Regions from separate parts of the Homo sapiens genome. Here region 2 is linked to region 1. Evidence: promoter capture Hi-C in human tissues and cell types (Jung and others, 2019). All regions are on one chromosome and are shown on one strand. Each heading gives the region's core, a stretch centred on a gene start or on the middle of the fragment in contact. The rest is flanking DNA. Distances are from core to core; before and after follow the strand shown. Region 1 holds the start of NTM (neurotrimin). Region 2 overlaps NTM (neurotrimin).

Region 1 (7,896 bases), core at 2,932-5,431:
CTACTGGCAGAAATCTCTAACCACAGTCACGAGCCACCCCAAAGCAGAAGGACCAAGCTGTGCATTCTTTGGGGTAGTTGCAACAATGGAGATTCTCAGTCCTAAGCCTGATAGATCCTGAGACTAGAATGGAAAATGGAAAGGAAGTTTGCTGACAGCATTGGTGAGACCGGTTCCATTAGGCAAGAGATGTGCTTGGTTGAATGAAACCCTTCTGTGTGTAGCCTAGGATCAGCTTTTTCGATTTGTAATTACAGCAATGAGCAGCTGACTGATCCAACACGCCTGTATTGGTGATGCTGTGTTAAACCCAATAACAAAGGAGGGAAAAAGATGCCTTCTCTAGAAGGAGGTTAATGGTGTGCTTTTGTGAAACCTGAAGGCCATTGGGAAATTTTACTTCATGTGGCAAATTCAAGCATTGAAAGAGCTATAGCTCTCAAGATAGTTTAGCATTTAGCAGTGTTCAGAACCCAAATTAGACTTCTGGTTCGGCAATCCCTGAGGATATATTTTGCCTCAATGAATGCACAGAGCATAATGCTGAAACTGCTCTGTCCAGGAGTCTTAGTTCCCAAGCACAGATAGCTTCTACCAATGACACATGGTAGACCACATCCATCTCAACTTGGTTAAAAACAGTAAAATTAATGAAAATTAGTTGATGGTTAGGATGTCTGGCTATGGTTGGGATGGGGGTGTAATTGCTATCCTGTTTCAGATGTGGAGTTGAAATGACTCAACCTAATCTCACAGCCCCTAGGGGACAGAACTGGGATTTGGACCCCAAGCAAAGCAGCCCTAAGTCCGTGCTCTCATTCAACAAGTCATGTCAGTGACGCCCAGTGTCTGTGCCTGCCAGGTACCAGACATGGTTACCTCACCTGTGTGCAGAAAGTAACTGCCAAGCATCATATTATGCTAAGGTTCATTTAAAAAATATTTTCAAGCTCTTCTTGCTATACAGAATGGTAGGATGGGGAATCTCAGACAAGTCACTAGAACCTCAAATATACTTGGTGTATTTCTAACTCTAGTTTTTAATTCATGGTATTCTCATCCAGCAACGTCCTTCCCTCTGCCTCAGATCTAGGATCAGAGTCACTCTCACGGTATTCATGACTCCCACCGTCTCCAAAGAACTTTACAAAACTATCATAGAAAATGACCACCTATTGTGTGCTGTCTGATGAAATTAATTATATGTACCAACCATTGGAAACTCAGTTAAGATTGAAAGCAGTATATGAGTCTTCCTGTAGTTTTGTATCAACATATGTATTGTTTTGTAATGTTTATTAATAATCTCATATGCTATTGAAAGCAACAAAAAGATTCTACGCTAGGATGCTTGATATCTATTTGAGTCCCTCACAGTATTTAGCACAGGATATTATTATTGAAGTTGATCTAAGATGAAAATGCTCAGGTTTAAATCCTGATTCCATTCCTTAACTGTTGTGTGGCTGTGGACAAGCTTTTTCTGAGCCTCAATGCCCTCATTTATAAAATGGGGATGATAATATCACCACTTCATAGGTTGTGATTATTTAATGAGAAAAATGCATGCAAAACACTGAGTATCATGTCTAGCACATTGCAAATAAATATCAATAAATATCAACTCCGATGATTAATTTCTTATTATCTGTACACACCTGGGAGCTTAATAAACATTGGTAACTGTATAGATTTATTACAGTTCAGGGTAAGGACATTTACAAATGTTATTGTCCACCTCTCCTGATTGGGACTAAAGACTTACCAGTGGCCCATGATCTTTATCATCGTTCTGGAGAGAAATGAAATGGTGGTGAAAGGAAGCCACCTTCCTTCTGCACTGCACTGTTATCACCTGCCGTCACAGTTGTTCCAAAGCATTTAATTACACATGTCACTATGCTGAGCACCGCACAAAAAGACTCATCTACAGATAAAATTCTTGTCCATTGGGAGCTCACGATATCAAGGACATTTTGATAGATATGTGAATTAGAACTTAATGGCAAGAAGAAAAAAAATACCAGTTAACATAAAACATCTTTAAAATGAGAAGGAGTATAATAAATTATTCCAGTTCTACAATTTTATAGACAAGAAGCCAAGGTTCACAGAGGTGAAAGGACCTGCCTGAGGTCCCTTAGTTGTGCAGAACTATGAGAAGGATCTTGAGGTCCCCAGATCTTGAGGTCCCAGGGCCCCTTCCTCTCAAGGTCACAAGATCCCACATTCCAGGCAGTGTTGTCCCTATTCATACACAACACAAGGTAAACTTGTGGGAGGCCAAGGCTGGAAGGACTGCTTGAGGCAAGGAGTTTGAAACCAGCCTGAGCAACATAGTGAGACTTCATCTCTACTATGTTGTAGAAAATTAAAAAAAAAAAAAAAATAGCTGGGCATAGTGGGTAAGGCAGGAGGGTTCCTTGAGCCCAGGAGTTCAAAGTTGCGGTGAGCTGTGATTGCACCACTGCACTCCAACCTGGGTGACGGGGCAAGAGTCTGTCAAAAACAAAAACAAAAAAGAAAGAAAAAAGAAAAAAGCCAAGGTAAATCGTACGTCTTAGACATGTGCAAAATGGCAGTGATGTTTTCATTTCACCTCTGTACACTAAAATACAAACAGACAATGAGTACTTTTCTTCTATGCAGTTTGAAAATACATGAACATTTTTATGGGGTTACAAGGAAGTATAATAATTAGCGGTGGAGTTCTAGAAGAATATTTTTAAAATGTGTGTCAAGGCATAGTAGGGGTATGAATGTGTCAGAATTAGCTAAGGAAGGTTCTGTGAGAAACTACATTTTCTTTTTCTTTTCTTTTTTTTTTTTTTTTTTCTTGAGACAGGGGCTGGCTCTGTCACCCAGACTGGATTGTAGTGGCGCCATCTTGGCTTACTGTGATCTCCGCCTCCCAGGCTCAAGCAATTCTCCTGCCTCAGCCACCCAAGTGGCTGGAACCACGGGTGCGCACCACCAAACCCAGATATTTTTAAGGAATTTTTTAGTAGAGATAGGGTTTCACCATGTTGCCCAGGCTGGTCTCGAATTCCTGAGCTCAGGCTACTGGCCTTCCTTGGCCTCCCAAAGTTGTGGGATTACAGGCGTGAGCCACAGTGCCCAGCCAGGAGCTACATTTTCTAGATTTTTTGTTCACATCCTCTAACTTGCTTCTCATAAGGGGAAGCCAAAGATTAGAATAAACTTCCAGGCCCTAGAATTAGACCTCTTAAGAAATCATTTATGTCCATTAGATTATTTCTGTTCGGTTTTTATTCTTTCCTATCACCAAGGAGGTTAATGTCTTCAACTGTCTGAGGAACTACACAAAGTTTACACTCAGAAAGCCCCTCCGCATGTCTACCCTGAATCTTTCTCGCTGCAGTTTAAATCACAGATGCTTCTATGATTGCTTTAGTGGATGTGGATTGACCAAGTCATGGGGAATAAACTCCTGCTTTGTTTTCTTTTGAAGAAGGTTCTCCATCTTCAGACTATAGAGCTTCTTCTCAAATACCAGGTACTTTGTACCTTTCCATTGTATCATATACACATGGATGAATTTAGGAAATTGACTTCTAAAAAGTGAATGAAAAAGAGGAGTAACATAGATGTTCTGAAACAGAAGTGACAGGAGGAGAAAATAGAAAGTTATTTACTATTTTCAAAGCAACTAAGTAGAAAGGTTGATGAAAGAGAGAAAAAAAAGCTGTCACTGAATGATATTTCCATTGGAGGGGAAAATAGGTACCAACAAATGAAAATTGCCTCATCTTTACAAGTTTCACTGAGCATGAAAATGTCCCTTTAAAATTTCCCATAAGCCATGGCTGGCTATGGGATTTTTCCAGTGCAAAGGGAATCTGAGTTCAGGAGGCCAGGGAATGCCAGGGGGAAAGGGATTTTCTGATACTCAGAAGACTCAGAGACTGTCAGTTTAAAAAATGAAAGTAATATAGAAGGGGCAAAGTGGCATTTATCATTCTATCTCTCCAGGCTCCTGTCTCTTTAATCAGCTAGCCTGATTTGCCCAGTAAATGATTCCTGAGAGTGTGTGTGCGTGTGTGTGTGTGTGTGTGCCCGCGCGCGTGTGTTGTAGCTCTGTCAATCCTTGGATTAGAACCAATGATTGCAGCTTGTAGGAGGGCTGTCCAGGGCCAGATTGTACAATGTGTCTCAGTGCCAGAGTATGAGTGGAGATAATTACGGAGAAGTCATACTCTCTCACACCCTCGGCTTTCTTGTTGTGTCCTTCAGCAAAACAGTGGATTTAAATCTCCTTGCACAAGCTTGAGAGCAACACAATCTATCAGGAAAGAAAGAAAGAAAAAAACCGAACCTGACAAAAAAGAAGAAAAAGAAGAAGAAAAAAAATCATGAAAACCATCCAGCCAAAAATGCACAATTCTATCTCTTGGGCAATCTTCACGGGGCTGGCTGCTCTGTGTCTCTTCCAAGGTAAGAGCTTGCTATTGATTTGCCTTCGGTAGACCCAGGAATTGTACAGTGTGCTTTATAAGATTTGCAGACTCCCCGAGTCGGCTGTGCTGCGCTGTTTGCAGGTGGAGGAGAGAGCGTTTAGACAGCATGGCTGGGACTTCATTCTCCCGACTAGGCTGTGAGAATATTGATTTGATTCTGGCTGCTACCGGAATGGGGGAATATGTATGTGCATAAGTAAAATGTGTTTGGTGCTCCTGTTAGGACTGTGCTTGTGTGCAAGGCTCCCTGGCTTCATGCACATTCTTGCACACATACACAACGGAGCACACATGTAAGCAGGGGGAAATGACAGATTCGGAGGGCAACAGGGTTGCTAATGTGTTGCTTATGCGACTGGGAAGAAATTACAAGAGGAAACTTTAAATATCGGCCAGCGAACTTGCAAAGCTTTTAAAAGGAGCAAAGGGGAAAATGCAGGCTAGAAAGAATCAGGTGCTTCCTGTGAGGTTCTGGTCAGCGATCCAGCTGCAAGGGATGAGTCAATTTGCAGCAGTGGGGGACAACTGTATTAGTTTTAAATGTGTTCGGGGGTGTGTTTGTGGCTGGGGTCGGAGGTGTGGAAGCGAGGGGAGCCGGGGCTCTGAAATTCTAAAAAGCTTTTCGAAGTTGAAGGGAGAGAGGCAATAAGAGTCGAATGCTAATTTTCTGTTTATTTATCGGCTGAGCCGGGAGCCCTGGGGGCTGCAGTTGAGTGCAAGCTTTGATGTCCCCAGTGCTGTGTTCTGTGCATTTGGAATCGGCCTCCACCTTGAGTCCATTTGCTGCACCGTGCCTCCCCACACCCCATCCCGGCTCTCACGTCTGTTCGTTCCAGCAACAGAATTATCCACTAATCTTCTTGCTCCCACCTGCCCTGTCCTTTGGGGTAACTAGTTTGCCTCTTTTATATTAAACACAGCTAAAACTCGTAAGGATCGAGACAAGCTGAGAAACTTTCCCAGGGTGGCCCAGCAGGGCTCCGGGAGGAGGAGCCCTCTCTTGGGAGGTGAGGCTCAGTCCTATGCAGTTGTATTCCCAGAGGAAAGTTCCCTCTGACCCGGTGAAAAACGATGGGGAGTCCCACCCCCTCGCCCTCTTCTCCCCCTGCAATATGGAGTTCTCCTGATCTGGACTGAGTCCTGAGCTGTAGTCCTGCTGGCTCTTCTCCGAGGTTAGGATTTAGGGATTGCTGCTGTCCTCTTGACATAGGTTGCAGTGGCTGCAGTGTGGATCCACGTAAGGTGGGCAGAGAGACCAGGCTGGAAGGATCAAATGTGTACACCCTTGACTGGGGCTCGATGAAGAAGGCAAGGGGTGGGGACAGGAGGGATCTGTGTCGGGTGATAAGGAAGTCCAAGGTGGTGAATCTTGCAGGGATGTCCATGATGTCGTCTGCTGCACCCAACCCCAGGAGGCATGGGCCTCAGGATTCCCTGCTGTCCCCTAGGGGCTTTGGTGGGTGTTTGAGTGAAGGGAATCAACTTGGAGGCATCCTCGATTGACTCCTCTTATATAATATGAAGCAGTATCAGTGTGTGTGTGTGTGCGTGCGTGTGTGTGCACCCCTGCTTGTTCTGGGTGCACAAGAATGAAGTGGGGAAGCTGAGTTCAGGATCGGGCAGTTTCGGAAAAGCAGTTTCTGTGGGGGTTGACAGCAAAAATGAAAACTAAGCAGGCAAGGGGTAGGGTGAGGGGTCAGAGGTAGGGAGAGGGAAGGTCCCAAGCCCTCAGTCATTTCTATCTGTCCCGAGATCCATGTCTCTTCTGCCTGTAACATCAAACTGGAGACAATGACCAAACTTCCACCATCAACAGCCCTGCTGGCTGCATGCCAGGAGCCCCAGGGCCATACTGAATTTACATATAAATTAGCATACGTGATTTTTTTTTTCATCAGAATAAATGCAGGGAAGCATAATATTTGCTCATACTTTGAATCATCTCTGAATAGATGAGTAGCAAAGTGGTGGTGCCAATTTCTCTAAGGTGCCATCTGACTTTGTGGTCTTGTTCCTAACTTGGGGTAGGGGTGGTGGCGACAGCACTATCTCAGACCTTATCACATTCTACCGAATCCGGAATTTCTCAAAAAGAATGATGGCCTTATTTGTGCTACCCTCACCCAGTCAGCCCTGAACAGGCTTCAGTGGTCGTAATAGAACAAGGTTGCCCAATTTTAACGCAGAACGACCCCCAAAGACCCGCATATTGCATGCCAGTCAGATGTGGCAAAGGTGATGTCTGTTTTCTCTTTCAGAGGAAGGAAGCTGAAGTCTGCCAGCTATCTCTTATCAAACTTGCAGAATTACTGAGGCAGCCCAGGTCTTGCCTGCAATAATCCACCCCTATTGCATTGACCCAGTGGGACTAGTTAGAATGCAGCACACATTCCAAGGCGATTTTTTCTTCTCCTCTGTTTTTGTTTTAAGCTGGTTCTTCCTAGAGCTGCTGCTTCCTGTGCCTCCTGCCTCTTGAAAAGGTGTCTGGTGCTAATGGCAGGTTAGGAACCCCTCCCTGACCTGCTCCTCCCCACAACCCAACCAGCAACCAAGATCCAGCTTAGGTAGGGAGGGGGGTTTCTGAGGGAATCAGCACTGATTAGTGACGCTGACAGGAGGGGGGATTAGCTCCCTGGGGCTCTGGCCCTAAGATACACCAGGGTTGATTAAGTGGAGGCATCTCGTTGCCGGGAGCAGACGCTACAGAACTGGATCAGGCGCTGTCCCTTGCAGAACACCCACCGCCCACCTTCTGCCACTGAGAGCCTCTGAAAGGAATGGCTGCTTGTGCTGCAGCTTCCTCTTTCTAGAAAACCGACCATTTCTCCTTCGAAGGATTATTGTTTCTTTTAACACCTTCAGATTTGCTTGGCTAGGTTCCTCTCTTACCTTTCTCATTTCCTCACCTCTCCTCACATCCCGCATCCGCTTAGCAGCTAGCCTGAGACACAGACAGGGCAGAGGAGAAGGAAAAGGTGCCTCGGCAAAGTTCACACTCCCCTTCGCGCAGCACCCGGGAGGTGGGCGGTGGGCGCCGTTCGGCTGGGCAGGCCGGCCAGGTTCCTGCCATGCACAGTACACACGTGGTGCCAGCAGCAGCTTGAGCTGGGCAATGCTTCTGATATTCAGGGGTGGCAGACGAGACCATAGCAATATCTACTGGCAAAGTGGAAACATCAGCCTGGGATGATGGGACCCTGGGCCTGACATAGGCATTGTGGGCTCTTGGAAGCATGGCAGTAAGGGGAGGGCGTCAGGGAGCCTCATCGAATGGAACCTGCCTGCCAGGCTTGGGGCTGCCAACTTGAGGCAAGTTCCTGGCAAGGCGTGCACAGTGGCACAAATGTAGCTCACCTCCGCCCTTTGTATTAGGAGGCCACCCCACCAATGGGGATGGCCGTCTGAGCATTCGCTCAAG
Region 2 (7,896 bases), core at 3,584-6,083, 220 kb after region 1:
GTCTCTGGTTCGCCGAGAGGCCGAGGGCGAGCTGGGATCCATGTGACCCTTTGATGTCTGATGGGACGGAGGCTGGCCCTCTCCGGGCCTCCCCCTCTCAGTGCTGCATCGGGCCTGGTGCTGCCAGGATCCGCTTGGCAAAGAATAGGGAACGATGGTGGAGAAAGGACTCTATCAGGCCATTGAAGAAGCGCAGCTGCTGAGAGGCCAAGGGGGGTGCAGTGGGGGGGAAGCTGCAGTGACGTTCTGTTTTGTTCTTGCAACCAAGGCACAAATTAAGGCAAAATTAGAGACTTTCTTTGGGCTATTGGACGGATGGGAGGAGGAGGAAGACGGGGAAGCAGAGCTTTTAAGGACAGCAATTTGAGAACATCTGAGACAAATCTGTGGCTGATTCTTTTTTTGTGTGAATTAGTTAGTGACTTTCTTTTTGGATTCCGGAGGGGTTTTTCCCCCCTTCCTTTCCCTTTTTGCACCATGCACATGTAAATGTGATTGAGAATTCTTTCGTCAGATCTGCTGCCTTGGCAGCCTTCCTGCCAGCTGGCCTGGCTGGGGGAACCCACGCTGGCGGCTGATTGCGATTGACAAGTCCGGGTTTGGTGGGAGGAAGTTCACCATGGGAGACACTCCTCAGGCCCTCCTTTGGGGCTTGGTTCCTGCAGGAAAGGAGGGTAGAGGGGACCCCCCAGCAGGACTGAACTCCTCCTCTCTGCCCGCAGAGGGCGCCCAAGCCAACACCACCATGTTGTGTGACCACCTAGCAAGCACAGTTGTGAGTGCAGACGGTGGCTACTCTCGCCGGGGCACCATCTGATGCAGAATCACTGATGCCCAGAGTCGAGTAGAGTTTGAAAGGCCATGGAGTTTACATCCTCCTTCTCTATCTCATTTCATGCCTCTATGTAGGGCATTTCATCAAAACACCGAGATAGAAGTAAGTGTAAAAATCTTGCCTGCCCCAAATGGTTGTAGTGTGTGGTTTGTCCTATTTTTTGCTTCTCTGTTTCAGCTCATTTTCTCTTTGTGTCCTTTCCTTTTTCCCACTGTGGCTCCAGGCCATGTTGATTTGCTAGTGTTTTTCCTTACCATCTTTCCTTTCTTCTCCCTGCCCACGCAGATTCTCACCAATTTGCCAGAACCTAACTCAAGGCTTCCATCCCCACAAGTTCTCTCTGCTAACTAAATGGGATTGTGTTTACAACTGTTGAGCACAGAAACTTACCTGTCGTAACTGGTCTCTAAAAGTTCAGTGAAATTACACACTGTCATAGGTAATCTCGTGTGTGTGTATGAGTGTGTTAGCCTTTTAAAACAATATTTTAGTTTTTCCTTTTTTTTTGGATACAGGTTCTCTCTCTGTCACCCAGGCTAGAGTGCAGTGGTGCAATCACAGTTCATTGAAGCCTCAACCTCCCAGGCTCAAGCAATCCTCCCATCTCAGCCTCCCAAGTAGCTGGGACCACAGGCATGCAGAGACAAAGTCTTACTATGTAGCCTCATGTGATCCTCTCCTCCTTGAGTATGGGTTATGCTTATTCTATTATTCTTACAAATAGAATACAGCCGTAGTGATGGGATGCCACTTCCACAATTAAGTTACAAAAAGCCCATGGATTTCCTCTTGGGCAAGCTCTCTCACTCCCTCTGGGATTACTCACCCAGGGAGCCAGCTGCCATGTTGTGAGGAAGCCCTGTGCAGAGACCCCTAACCTGTTAATGGTCATATGAGTGAGCTTGAGGCAGATCTGCTCCTCCTCCTAGGCAAGACTTTAGATGAGACCACAGCTCTGGCCCACAGACTGACTGTAACCTTAGGAGGAACCCTGAGCCAGAGGTACCCAGCAAAGCTCTTTCCAGATTTTTGACCCCAGAAACTGTGAGATAATAACAGTTTGTTGTTTTAGGCTGCTTTGTTTGTTACACAGCAACAGATAATTAATACAATGGGTTTTCTATAAGACTCTTTTCTCCTCTTAAGGTGCTTTAAAGAAAAAGACGGTAGGTTTTCAAAAAGAAAATGGACAAGCTTCAGCATGAAGAGACTGCTTTTTAAGTGTTTTCAACTCTTTGGAAAGAACAATCTATATCACTTATCTCACACTAACCGTTTCTGAACCTAGAGCAACTTCAGCTATTGAAAGAGGTATCAGGCAATCTACTATATCAAATTAATTTTAGTTAACTTAAAAAATAAGTGATGCTCAATTGGGAGGCTACGGAGCAAGCAGAAGTACTCAGAAAAGAGAAGGACACTAACCAGTACTAACTACACCCAGTCATTACTCCACGTGACTTGCATTGTATTATCTCATTTTATTTACCCATTCATGCTCTGGAGTGAGTTCTGTTATTATCTCCATTTTACAGATAAGGTAGCTAAGGCACAGAAAGTTTAATTACATTTCCCAATGTTGTATAGCTTTGATAGGCTGAGGTGGGCAGATCACGAGGTCAGGAGATCGAGACCATCCTGGATAACGTGGTGAAACCCCATCTCTACTGAAAATACAAAACATTAGCCAGGCATGGTGGCAGGTGCCTATAGTCCTAGCTACTCGGGAGGCTGAGGCAGGAGAATGGCATGAACCCAGGAGGTGGAGCTTGCAGTGAGCAGAGATCGCACCACTGCACTCTAGCCTGGGAGACGGAGCGAGACTCTGTCCAAAAAAAAAAAAATAGGCCTTACTTCGAAGTCCATACTCTTGACCACAAATTATTCTGCCTTACCATTTCAGACAAATTCAAATTATTAAATACAATCCCATTTTAGAACTCACAAATATTGGCTAATTGAAAAATTGATGAATAATATAGATGTAGAATGAAATTGATACTATATTATATATTTTTTAATTTTATCCTATATAGGCAAAGCTTATTTCACCAGTCATAACACACACCTGCATGAGTGGAATTGTATCTTAAATGCTCCACTGCACCCAGTCCAGGACTCTATTCTTTCATGACTGTGCATCAGAAACAACTGGAGGAAGTAAGTAAGACAGGGGCCAGCACAGAGAGAATTACAGTAGTTGACAGCATGAAAGAAGAGGTGGTCAGAGATCAAAACAAGTTCAGGGCTGGTGGAATACAAAGTGAGAGAGAGAAAAACCAAATCATCATCTTTAGGATGAGGCTGATGAGGAAGAGTGACCCATAGCTGAGCATCAAGTAAGCCAAGGTCACAGAAAGACAACTAGTAATAAAGCATGTGTGGAATGCTTGCTATGTGCCAGGCACTGTTCTAAATGATTGTCATGTATTGTCTCCTTTAATTTTACATCACCATATGAGGTGGTTACTAAAAGCGTCCCCATTTCACAGATGAAGAAACCGAGGCACAGATTATTGTTAACTCCCAGCCACAATTAGCAAATAAAAGGGTTAAGACACAATGAGAGATCTGCTGCAAGCTCACTCAAATGACTGTTGGCAGGTTTTGGTCCCTTGCCAAGCAGGCGTCTGCACAGGGCTTCCTCACAACATGGCAGCTGGCCACCCCCAGTGAGCAACCCAAGAGACAGTGAGAGCTTGCCCCAGAGCAAAGCCACAGGCTTTGTATAACTTAATTTTGAAAGTGACATCACATTATTTCCAAGATGGCCTGAAACAAAAATCCTTTCTCTTGACCACTACTGTAAATTTTCTTGGCAATGTAGTTTAAGTCAGTACTAGTGTGCCATGGTTATGAAGCAAATTTGAATTAAGGAATGGGGATATTTACCTTTTGCTATATTTTATAGATGCTGGATCTGGGTAGGGCAAGGACACAAAAACCAGTGATAGCCAGAGGGATTTGCCATCTTGGTAACTTGAGTCTACCTAGAACCAAAACAGACAATCAAAAGAAAAAGCCTGGAATAATTATTTAGTCCTGCTATAATTTTACTGAACATCATCAAATTTTTAACACTTGTAATCAACCTACTATGGGGAATGGCATCAGGCTAGTTGGGTATAGAAAACTACGTCAGACAAGGTCTCCATCTGCTTATGAAGACATTACATGTAAATATTAACTCTGGGCAATGTGTACTTATTGTTAAATGGGGTAAAGACATTAACTGCTTGATGATTCTGAGAGAACTCACTGTGAGCTCATGTGCTGTGATTTGGGTTTTGAACAAGAGAAAGAAAGAGAAATGGCATTAACAGGTGTGGCTCATGCAATGTGAAAGTGGAGGGTTTATATGGGAGAGTAGTGGAGCCTCACGCTGCAGAGGACTCATGCCTGAGCATGCTAGGGGAGAGGTTGGTCTTCGTCCTGTAGGTTGTGGGTGGACACTAAGGTTTGTGAGAAGACAGGTGGCATGATAAATTAGTATTTAAGTGAGATTAACACAGCAGTTATACAGGAAACCATGCCACTCTTAACCTGGAAAAATGTGTGTGTGTGTGTGTGTGTGTGTGTGTGTGTGTAGGCTCTGGTTGTAGTGGGAAGGCACGAGGCTAGAAGTCAGAAGACCCAGTTTCTTGTAAATATCTTACCATTAATAATACACATGAATTTAAGCAGGGCTTTTTTCTCTTCCCTGGGACACACATTCTTCATTATAAAGTGATGGGATTGGAGACTCTCCTAAAGTCCTCCCAGCACTAGCATTCTGGATTTTTCACACTGCCATCCCCCTCAATTAGTGCTGTAATTAAAAGCTGACTACACATCCATTCTCCATCCAGAAACTGCAGTCCAGGGCTTCCCACAGGAGCTTCTGCAGAGGCAAAACAACCCTGTCCTCTTCTTTCTTACACATGATGATGAAACCAAAGTGTTTTTCTCCCCTCTGGCTTATTTAACCCCAAATCATTATTTGTTTTTTTGTATCTTATGCCTTTCATGTCCTAGGTTTGAAGGTGATGTGTACATGGCAGAGAGACACCATCCCACCCCTTCCTCGTCACTTTTGTTGAAAAATGTTCCTGCATCCACACATACACACATGCGCACACACATGTGACACCAGGTCACTGCCTGGCCTCACTGCTGAGGAGATGAAAGCAAAGTTTCCAGGGCACTTATTGTGCCTCACCTGGTGTCCCTTAGCTGGAGGTGTGAGGCTTATATCAGGTAATACAGAGTGGAGGGCTCGATCCCCATATAAGTAGTACATTTCAGAAAGTAGCAAAGAATATTTCTTCTGCGCTAAAACCCAACAAAGCAGCAAGGGATACGCTCTTCCCCAGCCACATGCCAGGATCCTCCTAAATGCAGATATTCACCAAGGAACTGGAACGTTCTCACTCCAAGGCTGGAAAAATGACTCCCAGGATAATCTGTGGATGTAATTTGTCTTTCAGTCTATTTTGATCAATCTCTTCCCTGCACCCAGCCCTCGACCTTGCTGCTACTGGGAGGCTCATTCTCATGGAGACAGGGAGAACCTCTGTCCCCTCCCCAGTCAAAAGTCATCTGTGTCCTTTCTGTTTTTTAGAACCAGGACTGTCTGACAGCAGTGATGACCCTGGGGGCTTGTGTCATCATTCAATTCCCATGGTGGGGGAGCAGGTGGGAGCAGAGATACCTGAAGCACCCAGAAGTGAGTGGGTTTGCCCAAGAGCTGAGTGTTCATTAGACTGAAAACAGCAAACAGGTTGATACCAGAGGAGAAGAACCAAGCGACATGCTGGAAGCCCAAAGTAACAGCCTCAGAGTTTAAGAACAGGGGCAGAAAACAGTGCAAAGCAGATCCCAGAGATAGGGCCAGAGGAAGTGCACTGGACTGGTCTCTGGTGTCCAAGCAAAGTGCCAAGCCAGGTGTCCCCTGCACGACAAGAGGACAATTGGATGGCTTCTTAATGTCCCAATATCAGGCCACTGGCAGCATTTACAAGTTATTATAACAACAACATTCCTTCTTTGAATGCTTGCTCACGGCCAGACACTGTGTAAGGGCTTTAGAATACTATTAAAACTCATCTGCATGGCAATTGATGTGAAGGCTCTTTTCTCCATCTTGTAGGTGAGGTAACGGGCTTCCTAAGAGAACTTATGGGACTTGTCCAAGCTGTACTGTATAAATGGCCGATGTAAGGTTTAACCCAGGTCTGGCCCCAAATCCAATGCTCTTAATTACTGAACTTTGCTGTCCCCACACAACTCCAAAGGGATAGCATGCGAGTGGATACCCAGTCATCATTTGGGCAGTGCTCAGTGGCCCTGAAGTGAGGTGGGCTGGAGACAGGACTGCACTCCCAGGAGAAGGGCTCCGGGTAACCTGAGGTGACAGGAGCAGCAAGCAGGCTGGATGAACCAAATGAAATCCTTGGGCGTAGTTTCAGTGCATCCATTCTGGGAGAGTCAGCAGCACTGATTCAGCCAGAGCTTCAACTTCTTAGGGAAATTTCTTGCCAGCTCAGCTGTTAAGACTCAAATTCCTCACCTCCTCCCAGCCCCCACCGCAGGGTTCTCTGCTCGCTGCTCTCATCTTCCCCATGTCACTCACTCATCGCAGAACCAGAAGGCTCAGCCAGCACTGAAAGGTCCCTGGGGAAAGGGGGGCCCTCCTGGGGGGCCCAGATCTGTAACAAATGACTTCCCGCAGAGACAAGCTGTGCTGTGCTCAGAGGCCCTGCTGGGGAGGGACGAAGCCTCCCGTGGGCCTGCTTGGTCTATCTGCTGCTGACAGTCCATGGAGCTGAGCTGGGGGAGATGGAAGGGGGGCACACCCTGGCTCCCCACTGGGTTTAGGACCCAGCCTGCTGAGATTCGTCCCATCTGACAACCCTGCACGGAGATGCATGGATTCCCTGCCTAACAAGACTATCTACTGGTGAGCTGAGCTGGGTAGTTCCCAGCTCAAATGAGCCAAGGCTTGAGATTTGCTCCCCGAAAGGGTCACTGATAAAGAAAACCCCAACTCTGTTGCCTTCAGTGTGTCTTTCACCAGGTAGATAGGTTCTGTCAGTCACATGGAGGAAGCTTGAGAGTGTGGATGGCTCAGCCCTGCTCATCACAGCCACTGGGAAAATACCCAGAGCGCTAATGTGCCCAGCAGCAGGCACCAGCATGAATGGGAAGGGGGCAGTTCATTCACAGCTGAAATGCACTTCCCTGTGTCTAACCTGAATTCCTCCTGCTGCAAGGTAAACCTCCCTTCGTTTCTGATTTTATTAGAGAAACAGTTCTTGTGTTATGCTCTGGGTAAGAACTACTCAGTTGTTGGAAGCCCATCCCACAGCCTCACCTGCTGGAAATCAGTCACCTCTTCTTTTCCTCCCTTTATACAAATAGAGCACTTTTGCCCCTGGTTGGATAATGATGTTCCTCATAACAGGTTAAGTCAATGGTTAAGTCAGTGATGAGGGGTAGGAAACTATTTTTATTGGGCATCCACTACGCACTCACCCCACTTAATCCTATTTAACTTAGTATTTGTCAAAGGATCAGAGGAACAGCTCTGACTATGGGAGGCAGAATTACTGGGCTCTGCTAAAAAATGTGGTAGAGCATGCTGGGCCTTCAGGCCTAGACTGGAGTCCTCACACTGCTACTAACTGAGAAGCTTTGAGCATGTAACTTCACCTCTCTGAGACTCAATGTCCTCGTCTGCAAAATGGCTTTGAGCAGCAGCTATAGCCTTTTAACCTAAGATCCACGAAGTCTAGCCCAGGGCCTGGAAATCACACATGCTCAGTAATGACTTGTTTAGTAAACAGGGCAGTGCTTGAATGATTCTGGTACAGATCATTCAAATAACATATTTAAAATGCCTTACAAAGCTTGGCATATAATAGGTCTTTCAAAAAAAAAAAAAAAAAGCTAGTTTCTTTTGTCCTGCAGTAGTGATGAAAGCCAAACAACCACGACCTGAAATTTCCTCTCTCCTATTCACCTCCCCAACACAAATACACACACACACCCCAAACACACACACACACACACACACACACACA

Evidence for each region. The method cuts DNA at HindIII sites, captures the fragments that hold promoters and counts their contacts. A contact is called where the count stands out against the background at its distance.
Region 2: a contact is called between a fragment that was not itself captured here and the fragment with the promoter of NTM in region 1, in 2 of the 25 tissues and cell types used here (dorsolateral prefrontal cortex and hippocampus).

The regions. Positions count from the first base shown.
Region 1 is chr11:131,366,434-131,374,329 of GRCh38, forward strand. NTM (neurotrimin) reads left to right here and starts at 4,182. Exons shown (of 9, transcript NM_001352005.2): 1 at 4,182-4,455. The coding sequence starts at 4,374. RefSeq lists an enhancer at 7,645-7,896. The HindIII fragment of the contact is 4,341 bases long and covers 246-4,586 here.
Region 2 is chr11:131,584,781-131,592,676 of GRCh38, forward strand. All of the region lies in intron 1 of NTM (neurotrimin), which reads left to right. Among named protein-coding and RNA genes, the nearest start is that of NTM-AS2, 48 kb to the left of the region's middle. RefSeq lists an enhancer at 1-332. The HindIII fragment of the contact is 4,760 bases long and covers 2,454-7,213 here.